7 separate regions of the Homo sapiens genome follow, and all the other regions are linked to region 1. Evidence: promoter capture Hi-C in 16 types of primary human blood cells and fetal thymus (Javierre and others, 2016). All regions are on one chromosome and are shown on one strand. The core of a region is centred on a gene start or on the middle of the fragment in contact, and the rest is flanking DNA. Distances in the headings are between cores, read along the strand shown.

Region 1 (4,052 bases), core at 605-3,104:
CTCTGTGGGGATCTCAGGGGACTTGCCTTCCAAGGCTGTGTATTTATTTCTTTATTTTTTTGAGACCATGTTCTGCTATATTGCCTAGGCTGGCCTTGAACTCCTGGGCTCAAGTGATCCTCTCACCTCACACTCCTGAGTAGCAGGGACTACAGGTGACTACTACATGACTGGCAATTTTCATTTTTTTAATAGATACCACAAATTTCCTCCAGGACCTGAATGTATCTATGTCAATTCTGTAACTAGGTGTACTAGTTATGGAATACAGAAGATCATTAAGCCACCATAGTCTTCTCAAACCCTGAAGAAATGATCAAAACTCAGATGTTTCCTCAGAACCCAAGTTTATTCTGCTAACAAGTAAACCTCAGAAATGGGCCTAGAATTTTATCTCTGATCACAGTTATGTCTACTACAGACTATAGAATCCATGATTTAAAGACATATTCTTCCAGGCATAAAAGCAGAGTGGTATTTGAAAAGACGAGCGTACTCCATCAAAATGTGATGAAGAAATCATAACAGAATGCCCTAAAAATAGCCAAATATGCCAAATTTTTAGAAATTGAGACGTGTCCAATTATTCCTGTCAGACTGGTATCCTATTACTTAGAAGATCTTGTTTCACATATTATAAATGGGTAGACTTTCAGTTTGACTTTAATCATCTTTTCATTTAAAAGTTTTTGTCATCAATGATATTTAAGCTAAAAAAGGTTTCTTACAGTTACAATTAGGTAAACTATAACCATGAAGATATATATATATATATTTAGAAAATTTTATTAGAAAAACCATTTGCTGTTCACTAATCCTAATTTGGAAAGCACCTCTTCTTCACCTTTTACTTAACTATCCCAGGACAATTACACACGGAGCATGATAGTCCCAATAATTTAAGTTTCTTTATAAAAACAAGCTCAACAGAGTCACCCTTTGCACCTAGTCACAGCAACAAAAGAAAACAAAACACCAAAAAACTTCAAAGCCCACAAAGATTTGTTGGCAGCCTAAGGCTCAGGAATCAAAACGTGTGTAAATCTGATCCCGGGGGACCGTGGCACTGACAGTCATTCAACTTTCTTTTTAATATTCCCATTGTGCTTTTTCTGGTACCACAGGGAAAATGTACCTACATTTTACCAACCGGTCGAAGCTGAAAATTCTCTTGGTGCAAGGCCAGGGGATGCGGCCGTGGGGCGGCCGGGGGAGCCCGGGGCACCGGCGCCAGCCACACGAGAGAGCAGTACCACGCTCTTGGCAGGCCTGCTGTGGCTGGCTCCCGAGTCCCTGGGGCTGCAAGAGCAGCCGCGGAGGCAGCAGCAGCAGCCATGGCAGGGACTCGGAAACCTTTCCCCTGCCTCCTCCGCTAGGCCTCGAGGGGTTTGCTTTTCACATGGCCCCCGGGTGGGGGCGGTGGGCACAAGGCAGTGGCTGCAGCTGCAGCCGGAGCCGCAGCCGCGGGCCAGGCGAGCCTGGCTCACTCGGAACCCGACCTAACGGCGGGCTGGCAGCAGCGGGACGTCAGAAGGCCCTGGCTGAAGCGCCGACGACCCGGCGGGGAAGGCCACCTTTCCACACACCACATCTCTCCCCTGCCTGCCTCCTTCTCCGTTAGCGCTACCGGTTGGCGGGCGGGGGAGGGGAGCAAGGCGCGTTATTCCCGGGGAGCTGGACGGGGGAGGGAAGGGCATCTCTTACCCGCGTTACTGAGGAGGAGGAGGCGGTTGGAGCGCGGCGCGGCGGGGCGACGGCGGGGCTGGGTGGGTGCAAGTAAGAGTCTTACGAAAGGGAATTAACCCCATCACCAGCCCGGACACCGGCTCCAGCGGCAGCCGCGGCTGGCAGAATCCCGCCCCTTCCCACCACGCACTAGCCCCGCCTCTTCGTTCTCTTTGAGCGGCAGCCGACTATTCATAGGTTGTACGTCCCCGGAGTGACATGAGTTTTGCCCAATCAAGCTTGAAAAAAACTGTCTTCTCTCCACCCCTTTACCTCCTCCCAGGCCGCGGAGAGCCGTGCCAAATCTTCCTCCAACCTCAAGAGAAAAAGAACCAATCCGTGGTAAGTAACCGCCCTTGAAGGACGCAAAAGCCAACCAATGGTAAAACTAGGAGGACAGCCATTTTGCCCACTTGTAAAAGAGCTACCTTTTCCCACGAGTTGGAGCCTGAGGTGCGGAGTTTCGTGAGTTTTTACTGACTCGAGGTATTTAAAAGACAACCAGATCTCCTCAGTGGGTATTTATAGTGCTTTTTAGGGGTAAAGGAAAATTATCCTCCATGTGGGGCGAAGTGAGGCATGCTGCTTAAGGGGTTGGCTCCTCCCCTTAGCGCTAACGGGTTCTGAAACGAACACCTGGTTTCTCCAGCTTCAGTGGCGGAGGGCGGGGTGATTGCTCTTTTCGGCCTGGAGCGGACTACGATTCCCAACATGCTTTTCCCCTACTCATAACTTCTCCTCCGTTCACTTGTCGCGGTGCTTGGCTGGAATTGTAGTTCCTGAGAGGTACCCATGCCGCCGCTTCAGCCAATGAAAAGGGACAGAGTTTTGAATGACTTGAAATTAGGGCGGAGAACGAGTTGTCGCGAGGCTGTACAGAGCCCTTTTCGCAACCCTAACGGGAGAGAAGTGATGGAAGAAGGGTAGCCGGAAGAGTTTCCTCAAAATACCATAGGGGTTTTAAATTATTAGTACGTATTTAAACTCATCTACTTTCACGTTGTCCCGTTGAACGTCACTTCCGCTTAGGGGCGGACACGTCCCAAACCTGTGGCGGGAGTTGGAGATTCTGCGGCGAATACGCCAGGTGTGACTGGCTGGAAGTGGCGTGGCTGGCAAGTCGCTAGTTTCTTGCATGGGAGATAAAAAGTTGAACGGAATTTAATGGCATTTTAAGAAAGAGTGGGTGACATGGGATGGGGGTAATTTCCAGGGCCCTTATTACTTTCTCCACCCCGGCCTTCAATCGCGGGCGTCTCGGCCTGCTCGCTATTAGATTGCACGGCTAAATTTGTAGAAAGTACCTCTACTGCCTTTAGTCTTCGCGTGGTCAGTTTGAACTGTAAAGACAGGGCTCCGAAGTTCTGAACTACATTTACAGACACACTTTTTTTTTTTTTTTTTGAGACGGAGTCTTGCTCTGTCCCCAGGCTGGAGTGCAGTGGTGGGATCTTGGCTCACTGATTCACGCCATTCTCCTGTCTCAGCCTCCGGAGTAGCTGGGATTACAGGCGCGCGCCACTCAGCCCAGCTAATTTTTTGTATTTTTAGTAGAGACGGGGTTTCACCATGTTGGCCAGGATGGTCTCGATCTCCTGACCTCGTGATCCGCCCACCTTGGCCTCCCAAAGTGCTGGGATTACAGGCGTGAGCCACCGCGCCCGGCCACAAACACACTTCTAAAGTCAGCTTGGAAGGAAAAGAGTCACAGAAAAGGGCTTTTCTGTTTGAAGGATTGATAATCAAGAGTGGCCCCATCACCACTCTTTGAGTAACGACCATTTATTAAACGAGTGGCAGACAGGCGCGGTGGCTCAGACCTGTAATCCTAGCACTTTGGGAGGCCGAGGCGGGAGGATTACTTGAGGTCAGGAGTTCGAGACCAGCCTGGGCAACATGGTGAAATCTTGTGTCTGCTAAAAACTCACACACACACATTAGCCGGACGTGGTGGCAGAGATCTGTAGGATCTGTAGTCCCAGCTACACGGGAGGCTGAGGCAGGAGAATCGCTTCAACTTCGGAAGTGGTTACAGTGACCCGAGATCGCGCCACTGCACTCCAGCCTCGGGTGACAGAGCGAGACTCCGTCTCAAAACAAAAACAAAAACAAAAAACGTGTGACTACAGGGTGCCAACTATAATACACCGATGAATAAAGGCATCACTAAAAAGATGCCTTTATTCATCGGCCACATGGAGCCCACAGCCTAATAATCTTAGCACGTAAGGCCCTGATTTATGCCTCCTTCAGAGTTCAAGGGCGACTGTATGTATACTTTTGGACATTCCATTTAAGGTACCCAGGAAAACTGATTGAATAAAGAA
Region 2 (4,052 bases), core at 1,019-3,518, 850 kb before region 1:
CTTCAAAGAAAGAATACCCCTTGCTGGTTAATGTTAGCTAAGTGGAGGAAGCAAAGGAGGAAGAGAGACAGTTGTATAAGACAGAGAGCCCTCATGCTAGTTTAGTTACTCGTTTGTCACAGTGATTTACACTGGGGCTATTCTTGCTTCATTTTCACTCCAATAATGAGCCATTTATGAAAGACTACATGGTACTTGCCTGTTTTATTGCTACAGAGCCCAGCAAGATCCTCAGAATGTTTTCTCAGCAAGCAGAAGATATCCCTCTACATCTTGGGACATGAAAACAGTTCTTGTAGATGTTCCTGAGATTTATAGGTTTGGCTCAGAGGCAGAGACTCTGGCAATGAGCTGTAGTGGGTCTGCCTCACCAGCAGAGAGTGCCCTGTTGTCACTTTTCTCTCCTATTCTCAGGGCTAGGTTGGATGTCGCTCTAGAGCTTGGGCAGAACCAAGAGTCAAGGACGGTACACAAATGGGTTTTTTGTTTTTGGTTTTTAAAGAATGCCTCCTAGCATGATGTCAGACTTGCACCATACATAATTATTTTGCTTTGGGCAATGTCCTTTGACCCAAACTATTGTCAATCCTAACCAAAGAGTAATTTTCTGAATGTTGTGCTTTCATTATTATGACAGCTGCTCATGTTTGCAAACCACTTATTTCAAAACAACACATCATTCAGATCTCCATGATTACAGATGCAGGGACAAGGAGAGAGAAGTGACTCTCTCACTAGCCCATCAGGGCTCCTAGTTCTGACAAGATGGTCATAGCTATGGGCTTCCCATTCCAAAGGCCCACTCCCACCAGCATTCCCTCCGCTCATCTAATTCCAGTCTTCCCAATCATCTTCTTCCAATGGGAGGATAATGGTGACAAATACTCCAGGTCACAGAGCTTTCACCTATGTTAATGGAATGAAGAGGTTGGGTCATTCCTGTGGCCAAAATCTTAATTTAAAGCTGGGGTGGCTGTAGCTCAGATGGTCTATAGCCATGCCTCTGAATTTTATCTGTGTGTAAGACTTACTGGTTCATCAGAACAGATGCTGTCCAAACCTCTTGTCGCAGCCACCACTTTCTTCTTTCACCTCTCTCCAAAGTCTCCCATATCACACTGCCATCCATTTGGTTAGTAGTTTTCATGCACAATCCTTTCCATTTTTCATCACACTTTCACTGCATGATCTCATTAGAATCTCATAATGCAAACTCAAGGTAAGTAGAGAAGGTGTTAATGAGCTTTTCCACTTACCCCAGGCAATAGTTACTCTGTTCTGTGTTCCCATATGTTGCATATTCCTTTATTATAGACATTTTTGCTATAGTGTAGTTATTCCTTTACCAAGTTCTACCACTGTGTGTTTCCTTAAGGCAAGAGTACAGATCTATCTTAACAGGCTTATTGCAGCACCCACCCCCGCCCCCCGCCAAAGCTTTGCAAAGTCCTTGAGATATAGTAAGTATTGAATAAATGTTTGTTGATTTGAATTACTATACCCATTTGACAGATAAGATAATCAAGTCATACAGAGGAGCTAAATAATACAGATGCTACAGCTACTGCTTGAAATGAGTAATGGAAGAACAGGGGATAGTACATGTATGGGCCAACTCGAGGAATAAACAATCAAAGAGAAAACATCTATTGCATTCTGACTCTGGAACAAATGCCCTGAAGAGATATAAAGATAAAATAACAAGACATGATCATAGTCTGAGACTCTCGTCCAGTGACTGGTGGGCCCCTTTAACTACTCTGTATCTCAGTTTTAACTCATTCAAGTGAGCAGGCTGAAGGATAAGATCTATTATGGCTCATTTGCATAGGCTCCTCAGTATTCTGGTTGAGGAAATGCTACGTATCATCTATTTGCACAGATGGACTATAGACATGCCAGCATACGTATGGCCATGGGATTAACAAAACATGCCACATGGGCAAATAGAATCAGGTTGAAAGAGCAGTCCAGACCACCCTGAAAAAAAAAAAAAAAGGCCTAAAGGAAGAGAGAACTTGGAGAACTGAAGAGTGAAGCAGGCTTTATAAGAAGTGAGGCCAGGGCTGTGGCTAAAGTTGAAATTTATACAGGCAAGAATGACTGACGGGGTGGAAATGAATGGAGGGGGTACACAAAGTGTGTGTATTTAGAGGACAGTAATATCAGGAAGCAGGGCAACTACTTTTCCAGTGGTCTATGCCTGGATGTGAAGGGAGGTGTTTGAGGAAAAAAGAAAGCCTGTCTCCACTTCAGTCCAGTGTTATTTCATCTCTCATCTGAACTCCATTCCTGTTTCATTTATCTTGCTGGTCTCCCAATCTAAATTAGGTTTTGCCCCATTGTACAGTCTCACAGCATTCTGAACTTTAACGTCACAGCAAAAATCTTAATTATACATGCAAGTAAGCTGTTCTTTCTCTATTGCCTCTGTCTCCTGCAGGACTGAAAGGTCTTTGAGAGCAAGACCTGCAACTGTTTTATTCACTGCTGAATCCCTTGCACCTAGCATATAGTAGGTGTGCAGTAAATGTCCAGTGAACTACTACATGAAAATCAGGAATATATGAAAAACATGTCTGTCTGATGGCAGGGCCGCCTTCCAGGGCACAGTTGCTCTGGCTGCCTGGGCAGCTTAACTCAAAGTCAAGTGAGGTCGTCAGTGACAGGTGCAACCACCACCCAGGCCGAAACTTTGGAGTTTGAGTGTCACGGAGAGTGAGAATGTCCTATTTCTGTTTGAGAAACACCACCACCAAGTTTCGTCAGCAGACCCTGCCTTTGACGCTGCACCACATCCCCTCCCCATTTCCTCTCAGTCAAAACGGAAGATGCTTTTCTTTCCAAACAAACTTCTCTTGAGCTTCAGGGCCCTCCCAGACCTCCCTAAACCCACCAATCCCAGCACCCTGCCTCCTACTCAGTCCTGCAATGAGTGACTTTGTCTGTACTCATTCAGATCCATACACACCCTGTGGTCGGCTGTGTTTGTTTCTGTTTTTAAAGGGCTGAAGCAACTGAGTCTCAGAAAGAGCAGGTGACTTCTTGAAGGTCACACAGCTAAAAGCCCCGTCAAGGGCATCCAGAGCATAAAGCTTTGTCATGACGCTAGTTGCTATTTAAGTGCTTGCTAGACTCTGCTAAGTGCTTCCTCACATGACCCCTGCCGATCCTCACACCAGCCCTGTGAGATGAGTATATTATGAAGCCCAGTTTATCAGAAGGCCTAAGTCACGAATTAGTTGGATAACCAGCTCAGGGTCACTCTGCTTGAAGTCACAGATCTGATTCTAACTCGGGACCGAAGCTGACCACATAGCCTCAACTCTCCCCTACATACTCATCACATGGCTGCTGGATGATTTTTCTCTGCTTCAGATTCTCACTTATTCCACTGGACGCTCCTTGAGCAATGGAGTCACATGGTGGGACAGGTGGCCCCTGGTCACTGAAAGGCATTCCACCCAGAGGGACCCAACTTCAGGAAGTAACAACCTCTAGCACCCCCACACCTGCCTCCCTACTTTTCTCCACGCCCCTTCTTTCTTGCTCTCCCATCCACTGCAGGCCCCCACCAGGCCTTTCCTCCCTGAACCCAAACTCTCCTCCTCCCAATTATCTTCACACCAAACTCAGCTGGTTTTCTAGGGGGATGCACCTGACAAGCACATTGACTGTGACTAGCACAGCACCTACCCCAAATATGGGGCATCCCTTTACAATTCAAGCACATCTTATTTCAGCCAAATCTACAGGGACCATTTCTGTCAATTCTGTAGTAAAAATTTTATAGCCCGGGGAGTTTCTCCACCAGGGGCACATGTACTTGCATTTTAACACAGAAAAACCTTAGGAGGGAGAAGAAGGCCCCAAACATGAAGGCTGTAAATATGGATGTTCACCTCTTAACCTCTCCTGGCCCCAGCCCTCTGAAGCTGGAGACTTAAGAATAGCTGCTATAGGGGGCCAGACATGATAGCTCAAACCTGTAATCCCAGCACTTTGGGAGGCCAAGGTGGGAGGGGATTACTTGATGTCGGGAGTTTGAGACC
Region 3 (4,052 bases), core at 587-3,086, 790 kb after region 1:
TAAAGGTGGTGGCCTCGGGCTGACAAATCTCTGTGGAAGCCCAGGGTGAGGCCCCTTTGTTCTGAGCGGTGGCCTGTGTGAGCATTTGAGGAGGTGCTGTACAGCAAAGGCCCTATCCGTGGCACAGTCTTGATGAGTAACAGACAGACGTCTTTAGAGGCTTTGTTTTCACATCCTCTTTTTGAAAATGGATTTGCTTCCTTAAACACAGTTGGCTTCATCTTTTACATAATACACAGTCATATTACTGCCTTTCGTGAAGCCAGTGTCTTCTTGGCCTCCATGTGTGTCAGCTGAAGCTTTAGACTGTCTGACCACAGAAGCTGATGACCCACAGTCACTTGAATGCTTTCTTCTGTTCCAAGAACCGCACCTAGAGCACCATGGGGATGACCTCATGTCATCCTTGCAACAGCCCAGCTCTGGTTACCTAGCCCATTTTATGGATTAGAACCCTGAGGCTCAAGGGGGCTAAATTTGGCACCCCAAATCACATAACTAGTCCATGGCAGGGGTGGCACAGGATATGAACAAAGGACTGTGTACATTCCTACTGCCTATGTATGTCTGTGCAGCAGCCAGCCAAGAGGCATGTGTTATGTGATGCTTACTATTTATTACTTCTCTACAACAGGGATAAGATAATGATGATGACAATGATAACTCCCAGCCTTGTGATAGGACTTGAGCTTCATTATCTCACAATAGCCCCATAAGGGGTATAGTTGGGGCCCCCACCAGATACACTTTAATCTGCCAGGCACCACCCCGTAGCTGAGTGTTGGCTGCTCACAGGTTGCAGCTGCTTCCTTCTTCTGAATGCTCAGCTAAGGGGAGCCACCTTGCCTAGAAATGCCTGCTTTCCCCCTAGGGGTGGCCACAGACAATGAGTGACAGATATGGGGTGCAAAAGTCTGGTGCCTTGTCTCAAGGTTGCATAACTTTGTGGTGTTCTTCATGCTATGGTGGGATCAGGCTGAGGTGGGATCAGACTGAGAGGTTAAAATGCAGCTGAATCTACATTTTTCTTGGCTTCCTTTTTCTTTCTATCTTGCCACTCACATTCTCTTTCTGAGATCACTTGCACCAAGAATCTGTGTCTCAGGTCCTGCTTCTATAGAACTTCAGACAAGCCCTATGAATCCAGAACTATTGTCCATATTTTGCTGAGCGGGAGCGTGAAGCTGGAGGTGGCTGTCCCCACTTCATCTTGTCCTAGAGATGTGGCATGTCTCTGACCTCCTTAGCCGTGTTGGGAGTGTTCATCTGCAGTGCCCCTCTTTGAAACCACTGCCTCCCAAGGACCAGAGGTGCAATCTCATGGGCTGTGCTCCTCTGGGCCCACTCTTTTTTATCTTCATTCTTTCCCTGGCTTCTGTCTCATCCTGGTTGCCCATCACCCATCATGAACCATGGCCATGGGACACTCTCAGACAAGCTGGAGGCTGAGGTAACCATGAATTTGCCTTGCCCAGCATGATTTTCTTCCTGTGCCTTCTCCTGATAGTAATCCTGCCCTCCAGCTTTGCCCACAGTGTGGACACATGACCCAGGCTGAACCAGGGCACCATCCCTGGCTGGTTACAGAGATTGGCTCAGAAATGAGCACATTGCAGGAACATAAGTCCCTGGATGACCTTGGCCGACCCAGCTCTTCCCCTTCTTGCTTTTCATTCCTAGACAGAAACTACTGAAAATCCTGTAATAAGGAGGAAATGTCTGGAGCAATCCAGGCTACATTCTTATTCCTTCTAGAATAGGATGTTCTGCAGTGCTTGCATTCAGTGGTCCAAGTGGTACCCAGGGTATATAAACCCAGGATGGAGTGCTTTCAGAGTCCCTCAGCTAGAGTGTAATGTGAGGCATGCTTAGACTGCATCTGCCCTTGGCAGCATTCCTGAACCCTGGGGAACTGCTCATGGTGGACCCTGGGTTTCTGTTGATTTTTGCTGCTTAACTGTGAGTAACAAAGTTGCTTTTCATAAATTGTGCCAATGTTCTGTCTTCCCAGACTAGACCAAAAAATGCAAGTGGTGAGGGATTGGGGCTCCTTTTTTCTCCTTGCAACTGTCCTGATGGCGTGGGGACTGCTGCAGCAGCCAGGGCTGCTTTGAGCCCCAGAGTAAGAACCCTCGCAGAACTCTGGAAGCTGGGTTTGTGCAAAACCTCCTGCCAGACTTGAACTTTGCATACATTATCAAGCCAGGATAATTAGAGCCCTTCCTTGGGACTGTTTTATAGAAACTAAGGGAAAGGACAGCCTCCTGCCTCTCGAGTTTTTAGAAGGATTCAAATCTAGGGCTGTCAGCATTCATCTTTCCTGCCATGTGGGAAAGACCCTTCGGAGGTAATATACAGTATGCCGACATTCAGGAAGTGACAGCAGCAAGGCGTGGAGAGAGTAAACAGCAGTCTAACAACAGTGATGCAGTTCAGGGTCTGCCACACCTGGTGCACCCTGTCCTTCCTGCTGACACAAGCCAGCATAGGCTCTGTCATCGATTTCTGTCTGTTTCACCTTGAGATTATCCTGGCTTATCTGGGTGGCTTTATTTTAATCACAAAGATCCTTATAAGAAGAAAGCAGGGGAATCAGAGTCAGAGAGAAGAAGGCTAACTGGCAATAAAAACAGAGATTGGAGCAATTCAGCCAGGAGCCAAGGAGTGACGGCCACCTTTAGAAGCTGGAGGATGCAAGGAAACAAATTCTCTCCTGGAGTCTCCAGAGAAAATCAGCTTTGCTGACACCCCCATAAGATGATTTCAGCCCCATAAGACTCATTTCCAGCTTCTGACTCCCAGAATTGTAAGAGAATAAATTTGTGCCGTTTCAAGCCTCCAAGTCTGCAGTAATTTGTTACGGAGCAATAACAAATGAGCACACACCACTGCACCTCAAGTTTCTCACTTGTAAATTGGAAGTCTTGCCAAATTTAGCTGACCTGTGAGGCCTCATCTAACTCTCTTTTTCGTATTTGCATTCTATAATTATTCTCTTGGCTTTCTTTTGGGCTAGGCAGAATAAGTATCTATAGTATCTATCAGCTGGCTTTTTCAGACATTCAGAAATTGAGGAGCAGTGAGGTATAAGAAGGACACACAGCTCTGGCCAAGGCGAACCAGAACCCAGTCACTCATCTCTTCAGTTCTGTTAGATTACAAAGTCATAGAAGAGGTCTTTCTTGCTTATGTTTTGTTTGGATAAGAATAATTTGGGCCAATCCCAATGGCATTGGCATCATGAGATGACAACACAAGGTCAGACTAAGGGAGGACTTGAAAGTCAGAGTCAAGGTGATGAATAGCAGCCCTTCCCAACAGGCATTGAGTGTTAGAACCAATTATCAAGTTTATAAACAGCCACAAAGCTTCACAGTTTCCCAAGGTGGCACAGACACTTGCACACATGGGATTACTACTTTAGAATTAAAGTACTATGAGGACTTTTTCCCCCGACTTATTAAGGGGCCTTTTCATCTGAAGATCTTGATGTCCATTTCTGCCCAGTGAGAACTTAGAATTTTCAGTCTTCACCTGAGAAAAGAGGAAGAAAAACATCACAGAGGAGAAAGAGGAACAAAAATTTCCACCCTTATGTAAAGGTTCCTTAAACAACTGTGTTGAAACAGGGTCCTTAAACAACAGTAGTGAAAAGGACTACACTGAGTTATTTTAATAGGGTCATTGTTAATTCACTCTTTTTTCATTAAATCAGTAAATATTTTTCCACTTTATAAATGTCTGTCTACCTTATCCCAGGCACTGTTCTAAGCATTCGTGATACATTTTTGAATAAAAGTGGCAACCCCTCTCATCCACATGGGCCACACATTCTTAGGATGTCTGATGGAGCGTGGCATTACTGATTGTGAAAAGCTGATGGCTGTGGAATTAGAGGGCTTCCTCAGGTTCATTCCTGGGAGGTGAGTCACATTGTCAGCCTGTGTCTCCAGCAGCCATTCCTCCTTCCCCACTGTATTGCAAATATATTCTTAAATTTTCTGTATATTATGATGTTTTGACATCATCAAACATTAAACCCATTTTGGGTC
Region 4 (4,052 bases), core at 1,087-3,586, 620 kb after region 1:
CCAAGTTATTAAGTACCCTGCAAGGTATTTAAAAGGTACCAGAAAGGGCAAATTCTACTGTTTGCTTAAAATGAAAAAGGAATATATACATGTAAATACTTGTATAATCATAGACTGTGTTTGCAAGAATACACACACACAAAACAGATAAAATTGGTTCCTTCTGGGGTGTAGACTGGGAGACATAGGTTGAATTTGATCTGTTTGAACTTTTACATATGCTTGTGTTGACTTTTTAAAAATAAACTTTAATGTTTTTAGGTTGTGAGCAGTTTTTTATTTTCAGAAATGGAAACTTCAATTTACCTTTTTTCAATTTTGATTGGGAAAAATCTTCATAATGGTCTCTTTAAGTTAAACAAATTTAAAGCTGGTATTTGTCTTGGTATGTTAATCTAAAGTGATTACCTTGAATACAGATTTAAGCTTTTTGGTCAGGGAATATGAATTAGGCTGAGCCAGTACTGGCTTTCTTTTTAGGGGATATAGGAGAAGGTACTGTACAACGGAAAGAGAAAGATGCTTGGATGGCTATGAGTGGTTGTTTCTCCTTTGGAATCTGGTGGTGTTGGGAGTGTTTTAAAAAGGTTGTTTTTGGAGAAGTGCTTGCAGTAGATAAGGAAGGAGAGAAAACACTGAAAAGGTGATTTTCCTGAGTGACTTTTCTAGATTCTGGGTTGTGAGCAGATTCACTGTGTAAGCAATATTGTTCCAGGGCCAGGCAATCAAATATGGTACTGAGGAGATTATTCTCTTTACCTTTGCTTAGAACCCTGTGCTGCTAATGGCATCTGAGAAGAATGTCTGCTGTCACCAAATTACACCCCTGGTATGGACATTGCCAGATTGGTTTGTGAATATATATAAGGCATTTGTTACGGGCTGAATTGTGTCCCAAAAGTCCTAACCCCAAGTAGCTCAGAATGTGACTATATTTGGATGCAGGTTCTTTTAAGTGGGAATTAAGTTAAAATGAGATCATTAGGGTGGGCCCTAATCCAGTATGACTGGTGTCCTAGAAGAAGAGTCAGTCATGATGTAGACATGTACAGAGGAAAGACCATATGAAGACACAGGGAGAAGACACCCATCTATTAGCCAAGGAGAAGGGCTTACTAGGCGGGTGAGCCAAGAAGAAAGGCTCACGAGGATAGTGAAGACTCAAGTCATTGTAGATAGTCACAAATTTGTGAGGCCTTGCCATTTGGATTACACTCAGAACTGCATGAATTCCTAACATACTCGGTGAAGATTGATTTCCGGTTCCTTTCTTTGCTCATTTTAGGAGGAAGACCTGTTTACTTATTTTTATTTTACTATTTATTTATCCAGTGAATGCTAGTAGAGATGTTACTGTGTGCTAGGAAATTCAAACTGCATAAGTCTGCACACTCGACTTTCCCTTTTGTGTGTCTCAAAGGCATTAATAATCAATATTTCCCCAAACTAAACTCATAATCCTGTCTTTCCAACCTGGTCTTCTCTCTGTGCCTCTTGTAGTAAAATGGCACTACTTCCAGTTATGCAAGTCCGAAACTTAGGGGTCATCTTTGGTATCTGTAATCCTTATCTCCCGTATCTAACCCATCACCAAAGCCTTTCTGTTGACCCTTATTATCTCTGGAGTCTATTACGTATGTTTCTCCACCAGCAACACTACCACCATCTTGGCCCAAGCTATTTCACTTAAGCTCCCCTGCAAGCTGTTGTCATCCTGCAGCCTGCCAGAGGAATCTTTTCAAAATTGAATTCTATCCCACAGGAGCAGGATTAAAAAAAATCAGCTCTAATTAATGCCATCCCCTACTTAAAAACCTTCTCATTGCTTTTCTTTGTTGTTGTTGTTATTATTTGTTTGTTTTCTTTTGGTATTGTTTTTTGACTTAAAACAAGAGAAATTTATTATCTCTCAATTCTAAAGGCCAGAAGTCTAAAATCAATGTGTTGGCAGGGACTATGGTTTGAATGATTGTCCTCTCCCAAACTCATGTTGAAATTTAATCCCCAATGTGGCAGTATTGAGAGGTGATTGGGTCATGAGGGCAGAGCCCTCATGAATGGATTAATAGGTTAATGGATTAATGGGTTATCATGGTAATGGAACTGGTCGGCTTTATAAGAAGAGGAAGAGACTGGAGCTAGCACGTTCAGCTCCCTTGCCATATGATGCCCTGTACTATCTTGGGATTCTGCAGAGTCCCCACCAGTAAGAAGGCCCTCACCAGATGTGGCCCCTCAACCTGGGACTTCTCAGCCTCTGTAACTCTAAGAAGTAATTACTGTTTCAGGTATCCTGCTATGAGCAATGAAAACTGGACTAAAACAGCAGGGCTGTGCTCCCTCTGAAGACTATTGGGGAGAATCTGTTTCTAGGCTCTTCAGCTTTTGGTGACTCTAGGCCTTTCTTGGCTTGTGACCGTAAGACTCCAATCCATGCTTCTTTGCTTCCAACTCTTGTTGTTTTTTTTTTAATTTTTAATTTTTGTGGGTGCATAGTAGTGTGGGGTACATGAGATATTTTGATACAGGTATGCAATGCTTATTAATCACATCTTGGTAAATTGGGTATCCATCCCCCTCATGCGTTTATCCTTTGTGTCACAGACAACTCAATTATATACTTTTAGTTATTTTTAAATGTATAATTAAATTATTATTGACTATAATAGTCACCTATTGTGCTATCACATATGAGGTCTTATTCATTTTTTCTAACTACTTTTGGTACCCATGAGCCATCCCCATTCCCCAATTATCCACTCCAGTCTCTAGTAATCATCCTTTTACTCTTTATGTCTGTAAATTCAATTATTTTAATTTTTGCTCCCACAAATAAGTGAGAACATGCAAAGTTTGTCTTTCTGTGCCTGGCTTATTTCACTTAACATAATGACCTCCAGTTCCATCGTTGTTGCAAATGACAGGATCTCATCCTTTTTTATGGCTGAATAGTACTCCATTGTATATATGTACCACAGTTTGTTTAATCATTCATCTGTTGGTGAATACTTAGGTTGCTTCCAAACCTTGGCTATTGTGAACACAGCTGCAACAAATATGAGAGTGCAGATATCCTTTTGATATACTGTCTTCCTTTCTTTTGGGTATGTACCCAGCAGTGGGATTACTAGATCACATGGTAGCTCTATTTTTAGTTTTTTGAGGAACCTCCAAACTGTTGTCCATAGTGGTTGTACTAATTTACATTCCCACCAACAATGGACAAGAGTTCCCTTTTCTCCACATCCTTGCCAGCATTTGTTATTGGTTGTCTTTTGGAAAAATGCCATTTTTACTGGGGTGAGATGATATCTGACTATAGTTTTGATTTGCATTTCTCTGATGAGCCATGATACTGAGGACATTTTCATATGCCTGTCTACCATTTGTATGTCTTCTTTTGAGAAATGTCTATTCAAATCTTTTGCCCATTTCAAAATCAGATTATTAAATTTTTTTCTTGTAGAGTTGTTTGAGCACGTTATAGATTCTGGTTCTTAATCCCTTGTCAGATGGGTAGTTTGCAAATGTTTTCTCCCATTTGTGAGTTCTCACAGCTTTTCAACATATAAAATTCCTCAACTGACTTATGGCCTCACATGAGCTTGTCACTTTTTACCAAGAATGTCTTCCTTTGTCATCTTCAGCCACAGTGGTTTTCTTTCTTGCTGTGTTCTCTCCTGCCTGTTCCGTGGTGAGCAGGTCTGTGCAAACCCACCCCCAAGGTGAGAGGCTGAAGAAAGAGGCTGACAAATTCAGTTTCTCAGAAAGAAATATTTAATAGGCTCTTACAAACAGAAGTGATATCTGGGATAACCATGCAATGGTGGGTCCCTGCATTCACTGTCCAGAAAGTATCCTTTGTATGGCAAGCTGATTACATCTCAGACTTTCTTGCTGAAACTCGTGACTACTGGGGAGGTTAGATAAGCATCTTTATGCAGGGCTATGTATGCTACAGGCATTGCTTAAAGACCTTGCTGCAGAACACCTTGGTATGCTGTGGTCAAACATCAGTTATCATGGCGAGTCTCCTTCCAGATGGAGTCACT
Region 5 (4,052 bases), core at 617-3,116, 600 kb after region 1:
TTATTAACCCAGTGTGGCATTTTAGTTTTCTTACTCAAATAATTATGTGAGTGAAAGACTGACATGAAAGCAAATTTATATTAAAAAATTAAAAAAAATCTTCAAGCTGGATGTTAAGATACCTAATTACATTTAAAAGAAAGCTGGGTTAATAACGGCCCCAAAATATCAGTATTCAATATTGCTGAAAAGCAGTACTGATTAAGAGAATAAGGCTTGACTTCCATAGAGTAACTACATTATACTTAAACAATATACTGAAAATGGTTAACATAACCGGCATTTAAAAAATTATTTAGTGGGGAGTACCTGAGCATTATGAATGTTTCTAAAAAAGAAAAAATATCAGCCGAGCGTGGTGGCTCATGCCTGTAATCCCAGCACTTCGGGATGCCAAGACGGGCGGATCACCTGAGGTCAGGAGTTTGAGACCAACAGGTCAGGAGTTCAAGATTAACACATGGTGAAACCCCGTCTCTACTAAAATACAAAAAAATTAGCCAGGTATGGTGGCACACACCTGTAATCCTAACCACTTGGGAGGCTGAGGCAGGGGAATCGCTTGAACCTGGGAGGCGGAGGTTGCAGCGAGCACCACTGCACTCCAGGCTGGGTGACAGAGTGAGACTGTCTGAAAAAAAACAAAAAAGAAAAAATGAAAAAAACCAACTTATAAAGTATACTTAGTATTTCATAGTTAAGGCTCTATCTACTCTCTCTTATATAGACACAGCTCCTAACAGCCTACAATAAATACTAAAAAATACCACTCTAAGTCCCAGCTACCTGGGAGGCTGAGGTGGGAGGACTGCTTGAGTCCATGGGTTTGAGGCTAGCCTGAGCAACAGAGTGAGATCCCTTCTCTTAAAAAACCAAAAGGACAAAAAATGACTTGTATTGTGAAACAAGAACATTAACATTGCACAGGAATTCAAATATACTACATAAATGTTACAAAAGGCCACTTTCCTTCGAACAGATTATCACGAAGATGGCAGTACTCCCCAAATTTATCTACAGATTCAATGTCATCCCTATAAAAATCCCAGCTTCTTTTGTAGAAACTGATGAGCTTGATCCTAAAATTCACATGGAAATACAAGGGACTAAGAATAGCCAAAACAATCTTGAAAAAGCACAAAGTTGGAAGACTCATATTTCCTAAATTCAAAAGTTATTACAAAGCTACAGTAATCAAGACTATGTGGTCTGCATAAGGGGATGGAATAGAATCCAGAGTCCAGAAATAAATGCTTACATTTATGATCCATTGATTTTCACTAACAATCCCAAGAAAATTCAGTGGGAGAAAGAACTCTTTTCAGCAAATGGTGCTGGGACAACTGTATATTCAAATACCAAAAAAAAAAAAAAAAAAAAAAAAAGATCCGGGCATGGTGGCTTATGCCTGTAATCCTAGCACTTTGGGAGGCCAAGGCAGGCAAATCACGAGGTCAGGAGATCGAGACCATCCTGGCTAACACGGTGAAACCCCGTCTCTACTAAAAATACAAAAAATCAGCCGGGCGTGGCGGCAGGCACCTGTAGTCCCAGCTACTTGGGAGGCTGAGACAGGAGAATGGCGTGAACTTGGGAGGTGGAGCACGCAGTGAGCCCAGATGGCGCCACTGCACTCCAGCCTGAGGGACAGAGTGAGATGTCTCAAAAAAAAAAAAAATTCAAATCCTTATTTACATCATACATAAAAACTAACTCTAAAGGAATCACAGACCTAAATGTAAGAGCTAAATCTATAAAACTCTTGGAAGAAAAGACAAATAAATCTTTATGACTCTAGTTTAGGTAAAGGTTTCTTAGATATGCTATCAAGAACACAAGTTACAGAAGAAAAATATTAATAAACTGGATGCTTGTGCTGCAAATACCACCAAGAACATAAAAATGACAATGCATAGAATAGGGGATATCATTTCACACTGTTAGGATGGCTACGATAAAAAAAAGACGAGAAAAGTGATGATATTGCAACCCTCACACATTTTGAGAACACAAAATGGTATGGCTACTTTGGAAAACAGTTCGGCAGTTCCTCAAAATGTTTCTTAAAAGCTATCCAAAAAGATTATTGGAGTCTAAAGTTACCATACCAATCCAGCAATTCCACTCTCATGTAACTCTCACCCGTAAGAAATGAAAACATATGTTCACATAAAAACTTGTACATGAATGTTCATAGCAGCATTATTCATAATAGCCAGTGGAATGGCTGTTAAGTGTAATCAACCCAAATGTCCATCAGCTGATAAATGGATAAATAAAAAGAGGTACAGCCACATGACGAATAGAATATTAATTACTCTGCAGTAAAAAGGAATGAAGTACTAACACATTCTACACCATGAACGGACCTTGAAAACATGCTTCGTGAAAGACCATATATACATGATTCCATTTATATGAAATGTCCAGAATGGGCAAATCTATGGAGACAGAAAATAATTTAGGGGTTGCCCAGGGTTGGGAAGGGGAGTGGGACTGGTGAACTGCTGCTTACAGCAACCAGGTTTCTTTTTGGGGTGATAAAAATATTCTAAACTGAGATTGTGGTGATAGTTGTACAACTTCGTGTGAGCCACTGAATTATGCATTCTAAATAGGTGGATTTTACGGTATATGAATTGTATCTCTCTCTCTCTCTTTTTTTTTTAAGGAGCTAACGTTAAAGACATCTATTTAGGCCAGGCGGGGTGGCTCATGCCTGTAATCCCAGCACTTTGGGAGGCCAAGCCAGGCGGATCACTTGAAGTCAGGAGTTCGAGACCAGGCTGGCCAACATGGTAAAACCCTGCCATTACTAAAAATACAAAAATTAGCCAGGCATGGTGGTGCATGCCTGTAATCCCAGCTACTCAGGGAGGGTGAGGCAGGAGAATCACTTGAACCCAGGAGGTGGAGGCTGGAGCGAGCTGAGATTGCACCACTGCACTCCAGCCTGGGTAACACAGCAAGATTCCGTCTCAAAAAAAAAAAAAAGGCATCTATTTATTAGTTCTCTCTCTCTCTCTCTCTCTCTGTTTTTGAGACAGGGTCTTGCTCTGTCACCTAGGCTGGAGTGCAGTGGCGTGAACGTGGCTCACTGCAGCCTCAACCTCCTGGGCTCAAGCGATTTTCCTGCCTCAGCCTCCCAAGTAGCTGGGACTACAGGCGCACACCAAGATGCCGGGCTAATTTTTTTTTAAATTAATTTTTGTAGAGACAGGGTCTCGCCAAGTTGCCCAGGCTGGTCTTGAAGTCCTGGTTTCAATCCTCCCACCTCTGTCTCCCAAAGTGCTGGGATTACAGGTGTGAGCCACCATGCCTGGCCAGATCTCCATAGATGTAGTGTGCATGCACTAACAAAAGAAATTTCAAGGAAACCGAAAGCCTAATCATAACGTAACAAATACTAATAAACAATATGCATCTTAACCATGTGTAACTTTATCACACATTTGTTAATTTAAAAGTAGAATCAGGTTTTGTTTTGAGAATATCAATTTCTTAAACAGCAAATAACTTTTTGGCATTTACATTATGCAATTATATTATTTTTTAAAAAGCAATTGTTTCATAAAATTATTAATTTGTTTGGGTAACAAAAATAATTTTAACAGATATTTAAGTCTACATAAAGTGAACCATATCAACTCAAACAGTTACTCACACTAGGCATTCAAAACCCCAATCATGGAGCTATAGCAACACAAAGTAACTGAAATATCTACCTTGGGGTGGGGGTGTGGAAATACCTGGTATCCTCTCTGAATCCTTGCATCATTTAAAGATTACCCCCAAACCCTCAGAATTTTCTCTTCCTGCCCTCTCAGGTATTTCTTTTTAAGCATGGAACTATATAAAGTTTCATTATCTTCCGATTTTTGGCCACAGAAGAAACATCTTTCCCATTTTTTTTTTTCAACTTCTAAATGAACCCTCAGTTTAAGATTAGTGTGAAAGTGCACATTTGCCTTTGGAAGGAATTACTATAGTGTGAATGGCCAATAGTAATTCTATTTGCTGGTGGATACAAATGACTATAGCCCACACCGTCA
Region 6 (4,052 bases), core at 603-3,102, 580 kb after region 1:
ACCAACTTTCTTAAAATTCTGATTACAATCAAATGACCCACTTTTCCAAAGTAGTGTGGTTTTGATGAACTAATAATGTCATTAATAGTTACTAGCCACTCTCAAATATTCATCAGTCAAATACATCAGAATATTATATAATATTAATAATGCCAATTCCACCTCAATACTGGGGGAACCTCTATTAATAGAGACTACAGGTTCATTTTGTAATAGCAAGCTTTTTTGTAAACTATTCTAAGCCAATGTTAAGATCGACACTTCAGACAAGCTATAATTTAACCATTAATCTTTCAAGATGTAATTTCCTTGACAATGTCATGACTAGTCCCTGCTAAAGTCTCATGAGCTTTTTCATCCAGTTTGGATGAAAAAAACCCTAATGCCCAGACCTTTACTTCCTCATTTGAAAAAAAAAGAAAAAAAAAAAGACTATTTTTCTACTTTTGGGTCCAACATTAACAAAACTGTTTTGACTCAATTTCTGTTAACAACTTGGTTGTAAAACATTAAATACACTTCAAGTTCTGGTCCAAAATCTCGTACACAAAATGTAAGCTTTGTTTTTCTTAAGTATCCTACTGTATTAAATTTTATAGCAGAACAACAAAAGAATCTGTTAAATAATCCATTAACATAATTAATTAGCTATATGCACAAAAATCACAGTATGTGCCTAAAATAGAGGCCCTTCTCTCTCAAAGCTACTGTCTAAGCCAATGTTCTTTTCTGGAACACAATCATTAAGTGAATTATTTCAGTAAGTAATAAGAATAGTAGTATCACTTCACTCTACAATTCAGATAAATCTTCATGTCTTTTTTTTTCCCCCCAGACAGGGTTTCCTCTGTTGCCCAGGCTGGAGAGCAGTAGCATTATCACAGCTCACTACAACCTTGACGTCTCAGGCTCAGGTGATCCTCCCACCTTAGCCTCCACAGTAGTTGGGTCTATAGGAGTGCGCCACCATGCCCGGTTTGTGTGTATTTTTAGTAGAAACGTGGTTTTGCCATGTTGCTCAGGCTGGGCTCAAACTCCTGTGCTCAAGATATGTGAGTGACTGCACCCGGCCACACCTTCATGTCTTTAATTTTGAATTGCCTTTTTGTGACTGACACAGAAAAAAAAGCTGCTGCAAAACATGGTGAAAGTCTTAACATATCAGTTCTCCAAGATTCCTATTCAATTGCTCTCCAAATTAACAAACTTTACTTTTCAGAATGGAAATGAGGTAGCTCCTCCTGTGTCAAAAAACCCCACATAAACCACAACCTAACCTCTGACCTAAAGACAGGATAAAAGGCAGATTACTTTTCTGTGATCTTTTTACTTCAGCACCAGGTATATAAACTATTTTTATTACGATTATGCCTACTGGCTGGGTGTGGTGGTTCACGCCTGTAATCCTAACACTTTGAGGCCAAGGTGGGTGGATCATGAGGTCAGGAGTTCAAGACCAGCCTGGCCAACATGGTGAAAACCCTATCTCTACTAAAAATACAAAAATTAGCCAGGCGTGGTGGCAGGCACCTGTAATCCCAGCTACTCAGGAGGCTGAGGCAGAGAACTGCTTGAACCCGGGAGGCGGAGGGTGCAGCGAGCCGAGATTGCGCCACCGCACTCTATAGCCTGGGCGACTGAGACTCTGTCCCCCACCCCCCCCCCGAAAAAAAAATTTTGCCTACCTAATCTTAATCTAGTGACTATTAAACTAAAACAATGACCTAGATAACCTGATTTTTCAAGCTATAGAACAGATAAGCCCTCACTGAGTTTTAGATGTCATTTCAACTCATTGAAGACTTCCTTTCCTCTGGATAAACTCTGAAAAAGCCTCTAACAATTTAAGAAAAACATTATAATCATGCAGCAATAATACAGCATGAGATATATATTCTGGGATAATTTTTTCCAGGTGGAAAACAAAATAGAAAAGGATGAAACAAAGAAGCATATTTCACAAATAAGAACAGGCAAACTATGGATAATTGGCCAAATATGGCTGGCCACCTATTTTTGTCAACAAAAGTTTTACTGGAACACAGTCACACCCAATCAGTTACAAATTGCCTATGGCTGCTTTCTGGCTGCAATGGTATAGTTGTATAGTTGCAACAGAGACCTTATAGTTCACAAACTCTAAAATAGTGTTACTCTTTGCAGACCCCTATCTTAAAGAAACATCAGGTGGGGCACAGAGGCTCAAACCTGTAATCCCAGCCCTTTGGGAGGCTAAGACAGGTGGACTGCAAAACCCCATCTCTACTAAAAATACAAAACTTAGCTGGGCGTGGTGGCATGCGCCTATGGTCCCAGCTCCTCAGGAGGCTGAGGCAGGAGAATCGCTTGAACCTGGGAGGCAGAGGTTGCAGTGAGCCCAGGTTGCACCACTGCGCTCCAGCTTGGGGGGCAGAGTGAGTATCTGTCTCAAAAAACAAAACAACACAAAACAAGGCCAGGCACAGTGGCTCAAGCCTGTAATCCCAGCACTTTGGGAGGACAAGGTGGGCAGATCATCTGAGGTGAGGAGTTTGAGACCAGCCTGGCCAACATGGTGAAACCCCATCTCTACTAAAAACACAAAAACTAGTTGGGTGTGGTGGCTCGTGCCTGCAGTCCCAGCGACTTGGGAGGCTGAGGCAGGAGAATTGCTTGAACTCGGGAGGTGGAGGTTGCGGTGAGCCAAGATTGCACCACTGCACTCCAGCCTTGGCGACAGAGTGAGACTGACTCAAAAAAAAAAAAAAGTGTTATCTATTTTCTTGCTGAAATCTACAGTACGTGGTTAAAATGCCCTAATCCCAAGAATCTCCCATTTCTGGCCGGCTTCTTTTACTTCTCAACCAGAGGAATTTCTCATCAAAACATCCCCAAAATTCCACGTTCCTAATTAACAGAACACACACCCACAATTTCTCCTTGTGTATTCATATTTAACAATGTAAGGCAACAATGGTAATACAGAGCAAGAAACACAATCCCCTGAAAATCCCTTTCGTTTACTGCTTCACAGTTAACACTCAACTTTCAGTATACACATTTAAAACTCAACAGAATTAGTATACTTTAAATCACTATTCTTATCTTGTCAGCTTATGGAATTCTAAACCTTACTTATTTATTTTTTAAGTCCTGAAAAAGCTTTAGATATTTGGTGGTAGTTAATATATACCCAGGCTGGAGTAGAGCAGTGCCTTCAAGGCTTACCGCAGCCCTGACTTCCCGTGCTCAAGTGATCATCCCGCCTCAGCCTCCCAAGTAGCTGAGACTATAGGCACGCACCACCACACCCAGTCAATTTTTAACTTTTTTTTTGTAGAGACAGGGTCTATGTTGCCCAGCCTGGTCTTGAACTCCTGGGCTCAAGTGATCCTCCTGCCTCAGCCTCCTACAGTGCTGGGATTACAGGTATGAGCACAGCTTCCAGACTCTATTTTTTTTTCTTTAGGCTGATGAATTGTTGTTTTCATTCTGTTCATCTGATAGTGTACTGACACTTTCTATTGTCAATTCAGACAACTGCCAACTTAGATAATTCCAAACTTAAAAATTTATTTTCTCTACTTACCATCTAATAATTCTAGAGTAACTGTAGGATCCACATATTCCCACCAATGCTTTCCATCAGTTGATACAGGGATCTCCCAATTGGACCATTTGCAAGCCAAATGAATGCATACACATGCTATCACTGTTGGTTTGTACTGAAGACAGAAGGTTGTAAGATGCAGACTGTTGCAGAGCAGGTTTGAAAATGGAGAGCCATAAAAATTCAAGTATGTAAAACAAAGAAAAACATTTACCAGTAAGATTAGAGCAAAATTTAAACTCTATCTTTAAGTCTAGAGTATAAAACCTTATTTTATTAAATTAAAAGCTAAGTTATAAAATTCTAGTACTAAAAAATCTACATAAAATGAACATTTCCCCTCACTCACTCCCGAGTATATTACTAATATATTAATATTTAAAATTTTGTTTTTACATCTAAAATTGAAGTATTTTATAAAAGGAGAGGAGGATAGTATATTTGCAATAATCACTATATAGAT
Region 7 (4,052 bases), core at 431-2,930, 590 kb before region 1:
TAAGTTTTTATGAGTGGAGTTACTGTTCTGAAGTTCCTGCTGAATAGAAAATGCTTTCCAGTGAGGCTGTCCCAAGCCACATTCCCATCAGTGACAAGCGAGAGACAGCTGGTCTTTTCAAATCCGGAGACCAAATATTATCTTTGAAAAAAAATGGATTTTTGCCTAATTTGGTAGTCACCAAATAGCATCTCATTGTTCTTTTAATTATCTGCTTCCTTTTAGTAGAGATCCCTAAAAAGATCTGAAAGGAGTCTTCAGATAAAGGAAGGAGCTTTCTTTTGTCTGTCTACAATCAACAAATATTTATTATGCAAACCATTTTGCTCCGAGTTTTCTCCTCTTTCCCTTTTTGGACAGATTTGGGAGATCTCACCTTTCAGGTTTTAGACATCGTGCAGGGAGGAGTTTTGAGGTAGGGTGCAGCTTACGGTCCAGGATAAAACATACTGATTCTGCCACTACCAGGCTTTGTGAAAAGCAAGTCATGAAAACGCTCTGAAATTCTAGACCTTCAGTAGATAGGATCTACCGTGTCTATAAAAATATGAAGATCCTTAAGTTTTATTAAAGATTCGAAAAAAGTAAAAGTGTTTTTACGGTTTTATTTTCATTTTTATTTCTTACCGTTATCGTTTATTATAAAGGATATTATAAAGGATACAGATGAAGAGATACGTAATGCAAGGCCTGTGAGAAGGGGCGTGGAGCTTCCGAAACCTCTTCCAGCCACCACCCTCCAAGAACCTGGAGTTTCTTTTTTTTTTTTTAATTCTACAAATGTAATATTAGAATTGATTTTATCTGGCCATTAGTGTGTGTCCTAACTCGTTCGTTTCTGAGAGTCCCATCTCCCGGCCCGGATATCATCTTTCCTGTGTCAGTGAAAGTGCAGAGTAGATGAGAACCTTTAACCACCAACATTAGGGAGGGGTCCCAGACAAAGGGGGAAAGTCATGCTCTGTAGAGAAAAGGTTCCCTGCCTCCGAACTACCTCTGGAACACTCCAGACTGAAATGTTTCCTCTTTTGATATAGAAAAGAGGGATCGTGTGTAGAGTGCAGTCTGGGCAATCCCTCTCCTCGGGACCATTTCGGGGTGGGGGCCTCTGGGGTCCGTGTCGCGACGCACGCGCCTCGGTCCCAGCTATCTCCGCAGCGGCCACCCCGCCTGCGGACGCAGTTTCTCGGCCCCGCCCCACACTCGCTCCCCCGCCCCACCCAGTCTCCGCGCCGGAGGGAAGTGGCGCGAGGGGGAAAGCACTGTCTGCGCGCCCACTGCAAACCTCAGCCAGTCTGAGATCGCTTTAAACGTCTGACCCCCACCCCCACTCCGCCCCGCCCAGTTCTTCAACCTAATTTCTGATTCGTGCCAAAGCTTGTCCTCTGCTCAAAATCGTGGAAGACGCCGAGTATGGGGACCGAAGACCTGGGTTCAAGCCCGGCTTGGAATCCCTGCCCATCCCTGGCATTTCATCTCTCCGGGCTTATTTGCTGGTTTCTCCGAATGCGGGCCTTGTCTGGTTCACGCTGGATCCCCAACGCCTAGAACAGTGCGTGGCACGCAGTTCGTCCTTCTATAAATATCGGACTAAATGCATCTCTGTGATGGTAATACCCACACGGTGTTGTGAGAATGAATGAGTGATTCTGTGCAAGTTCCTAGTGATCTGTTACAAAAAGTACTGGTCGCTAAATTACTCTTATAATAAAGCATACTTTTAGGATAATAAAGCACTATTCGCGAATTGGTTACCGCTATTATGAAATTACTGAGCAATACATATCTACATCTGATCAGTCTCCAGAATTATGCCAAATCCTACCTTCTTCTGAAAGTATCTCCTAATTATCTGCACCTGACCCTAGTGATGCTGTGAATGTGCAAGTATAGCTACATCCTCCGAAGGAAGGATCTTTACTCCTTTTACCTCCTGAATGGGCTGCGTCTGCTGAAAGCGCGGGGAATGGCGTTGGAAGCTTGGCCCTACTTCCAGCATTGCCGCCTACTGGTTGGGTTACTCCAGCAAGTCACTCCCCTTCCCTGGGCCTCAGTGTCTCTACTGTAGCATTCCCAGGTCTGGAATTCCATCCACTTTAGCAAGGATGGACGCGCCACAGAGAGACGCGTTCCTAGCCCGCGCTTCCCACCTGTCTTCAGGCGCATCCCGCTTCCCTCAAACTTAGGAAATGCCTCTGGGAGGTCCTGTCCGGCTCCGGACTCACTACCGACCACCCGCAAACAGCAGGGTCCCCTGGGCTTCCCAAGCCGCGCACCTCTCCGCCCCGCCCCTGCGCCCTCCTTCCTCGCGTCTGCCCCTCTCCCCCACCCCGCCTTCTCCCTCCCCGCCCCAGCGGCGCATGCGCCGCGCTCGGAGCGTGTTTTTATAAAAGTCCGGCCGCGGCCAGAAACTTCAGTTTGTTGGCTGCGGCAGCAGGTAGCAAAGTGACGCCGAGGGCCTGAGTGCTCCAGTAGCCACCGCATCTGGAGAACCAGCGGTTACCATGGAGGGGATCAGTGTAAGTCCAGTTTCAACCTGCTTTGTCATAAATGTACAAACGTTTGAACTTAGAGCGCAGCCCCTCTCCGAGCGGGCAGAAGCGGCCAGGACATTGGAGGTACCCGTACTCCAAAAAAGGGTCACCGAAAGGAGTTTTCTTGACCATGCCTATATAGTGCGGGTGGGTGGGGGGGGAGCAGGATTGGAATCTTTTTCTCTGTGAGTCGAGGAGAAACGACTGGAAAGAGCGTTCCAGTGGCTGCATGTGTCTCCCCCTTGAGTCCCGCCGCGCGCGGCGGCTTGCACGCTGTTTGCAAACGTAAGAACATTCTGTGCACAAGTGCAGAGAAGGCGTGCGCGCTGCCTCGGGACTCAGACCACCGGTCTCTTCCTTGGGGAAGCGGGGATGTCTTGGAGCGAGTTACATTGTCTGAATTTAGAGGCGGAGGGCGGCGTGCCTGGGCTGAGTTCCCAGGAGGAGATTGCGCCCGCTTTAACTTCGGGGTTAAGCGCCTGGTGACTGTTCTTGACACTGGGTGCGTGTTTGTTAAACTCTGTGCGGCCGACGGAGCTGTGCCAGTCTCCCAGCACAGTAGGCAGAGGGCGGGAGAGGCGGGTGGACCCACCGCGCCGATCCTCTGAGGGGATCGAGTGGTGGCAGCAGCTAGGAGTTGATCCGCCCGCGCGCTTTGGGTTTGAGGGGGAAAACCTTCCCGCCGTCCGAAGCGCGCCTCTTCCCCACGGCCGCGAGTGGGTCCTGCAGTTCGAGAGTTTGGGGTCGTGCAGAGGTCAGCGGAGTGGTTTGACCTCCCCTTTGACACCGCGCAGCTGCCAGCCCTGAGATTTGCGCTCCGGGGATAGGAGCGGGTACGGGGTGAGGGGCGGGGGCGGTTAAGACCGCACCTGGGCTGCCAGGTCGCCGCCGCGAAGACTGGCAGGTGCAAGTGGGGAAACCGTTTGGCTCTCTCCGAGTCCAGTTGTGATGTTTAACCGTCGGTGGTTTCCAGAAACCTTTTGAAACCCTCTTGCTAGGGAGTTTTTGGTTTCCTGCAGCGGCGCGCAATTCAAAGACGCTCGCGGCGGAGCCGCCCAGTCGCTCCCCAGCACCCTGTGGGACAGAGCCTGGCGTGTCGCCCAGCGGAGCCCCTGCAGCGCTGCTTGCGGGCGGTTGGCGTGGGTGTAGTGGGCAGCCGCGGCGGCCCGGGGCTGGACGACCCGGCCCCCCGCGTGCCCACCGCCTGGAGGCTTCCAGCTGCCCACCTCCGGCCGGGTTAACTGGATCAGTGGCGGGGTAATGGGAAGCCACCCGGGAGAGTGAGGAAATGAAACTTGGGGCGAGGACCACGGGTGCAGACCCCGTTACCTTCTCCACCCAGGAAAATGCCCCGCTCCCTAACGTCCCAAACGCGCCAAGTGATAAACACGAGGATGGCAAGAGACCCACACACCGGAGGAGCGCCCGCTTGGGGGAGGAGGTGCCGTTTGTTCATTTTCTGACACTCCCGCCCAATATACCCCAAGCACCGAAGGGCCTTCGTTTTAAGACCGCATT

The links. Contacts are between HindIII fragments. The CHiCAGO score rates a contact against its expected background, and 5 or more counts as called.
Region 2: a fragment that was not itself captured here is called in contact with the fragment with the promoter of R3HDM1 in region 1 in 4 of 17 cell types (fetal thymus, naive CD4 T cells, activated CD4 T cells and 1 more); the score reaches 11.1 in fetal thymus.
Region 3: a contact is called between a fragment that was not itself captured here and the fragment with the promoter of R3HDM1 in region 1, in 1 of 17 cell types (monocytes). The highest score is 6.2, in monocytes.
Region 4: a contact is called between a fragment that was not itself captured here and the fragment with the promoter of R3HDM1 in region 1, in 1 of 17 cell types (non-activated CD4 T cells). The highest score is 6.5, in non-activated CD4 T cells.
Region 5: a fragment that was not itself captured here is called in contact with the fragment with the promoter of R3HDM1 in region 1 in 9 of 17 cell types (activated CD4 T cells, total CD8 T cells, erythroblasts and 6 more); the score reaches 10.2 in activated CD4 T cells.
Region 6: a contact is called between a fragment that was not itself captured here and the fragment with the promoter of R3HDM1 in region 1, in 9 of 17 cell types (naive CD8 T cells, total B cells, erythroblasts and 6 more). The highest score is 8.4, in naive CD8 T cells.
Region 7: a fragment that was not itself captured here is called in contact with the fragment with the promoter of R3HDM1 in region 1 in 1 of 17 cell types (fetal thymus); the score reaches 7.1 in fetal thymus.

What each region holds. Positions count from the first base shown.
Region 1 is chr2:135,529,286-135,533,337 of GRCh38, reverse strand. R3HDM1 (R3H domain containing 1) reads right to left here and starts at 1,854. Exons shown (of 27, transcript NM_001378107.1): 1 at 1,705-1,854. ZRANB3 (zinc finger RANBP2-type containing 3) reads left to right here and starts at 2,120. Exons shown (of 21, transcript NM_032143.4): 1 at 2,120-2,211. RefSeq lists a silencer at 1,688-1,877 and enhancers at 1,845-2,139, 2,108-2,377, 2,728-2,807. The HindIII fragment of the contact is 3,394 bases long and covers 1-1,966 here.
Region 2 is chr2:136,381,185-136,385,236 of GRCh38, reverse strand. No RefSeq gene overlaps it. Among named protein-coding and RNA genes, the nearest start is that of CXCR4, 270 kb to the right of the region's middle. The HindIII fragment of the contact is 1,658 bases long and covers 1,440-3,097 here.
Region 3 is chr2:134,736,203-134,740,254 of GRCh38, reverse strand. No RefSeq gene overlaps it. Among named protein-coding and RNA genes, the nearest start is that of TMEM163, 19 kb to the right of the region's middle. RefSeq lists an enhancer at 250-469. The HindIII fragment of the contact is 3,069 bases long and covers 302-3,370 here.
Region 4 is chr2:134,906,841-134,910,892 of GRCh38, reverse strand. The region is part of intron 1 of CCNT2-AS1 (CCNT2 antisense RNA 1); the gene reads left to right. Among named protein-coding and RNA genes, the nearest start is that of CCNT2-AS1, 9.7 kb to the left of the region's middle. The HindIII fragment of the contact is 3,815 bases long and covers 429-4,052 here.
Region 5 is chr2:134,928,596-134,932,647 of GRCh38, reverse strand. All of the region lies in intron 2 of CCNT2 (cyclin T2), which reads right to left. Among named protein-coding and RNA genes, the nearest start is that of CCNT2, 12 kb to the right of the region's middle. The HindIII fragment of the contact is 7,188 bases long and covers 1-4,052 here.
Region 6 is chr2:134,947,416-134,951,467 of GRCh38, reverse strand. CCNT2 (cyclin T2) reads right to left here. Exons shown (of 9, transcript NM_058241.3): 7 at 3,569-3,732. Among named protein-coding and RNA genes, the nearest start is that of CCNT2, 31 kb to the right of the region's middle. The HindIII fragment of the contact is 2,583 bases long and covers 561-3,143 here.
Region 7 is chr2:136,116,513-136,120,564 of GRCh38, reverse strand. It overlaps CXCR4 (C-X-C motif chemokine receptor 4), which reads left to right and starts at 2,416. Exons shown (of 2, transcript NM_003467.3): 1 at 2,416-2,519. The coding sequence starts at 2,505. RefSeq lists an enhancer at 3,425-3,494 and a silencer at 3,625-3,794. The HindIII fragment of the contact is 602 bases long and covers 1,380-1,981 here.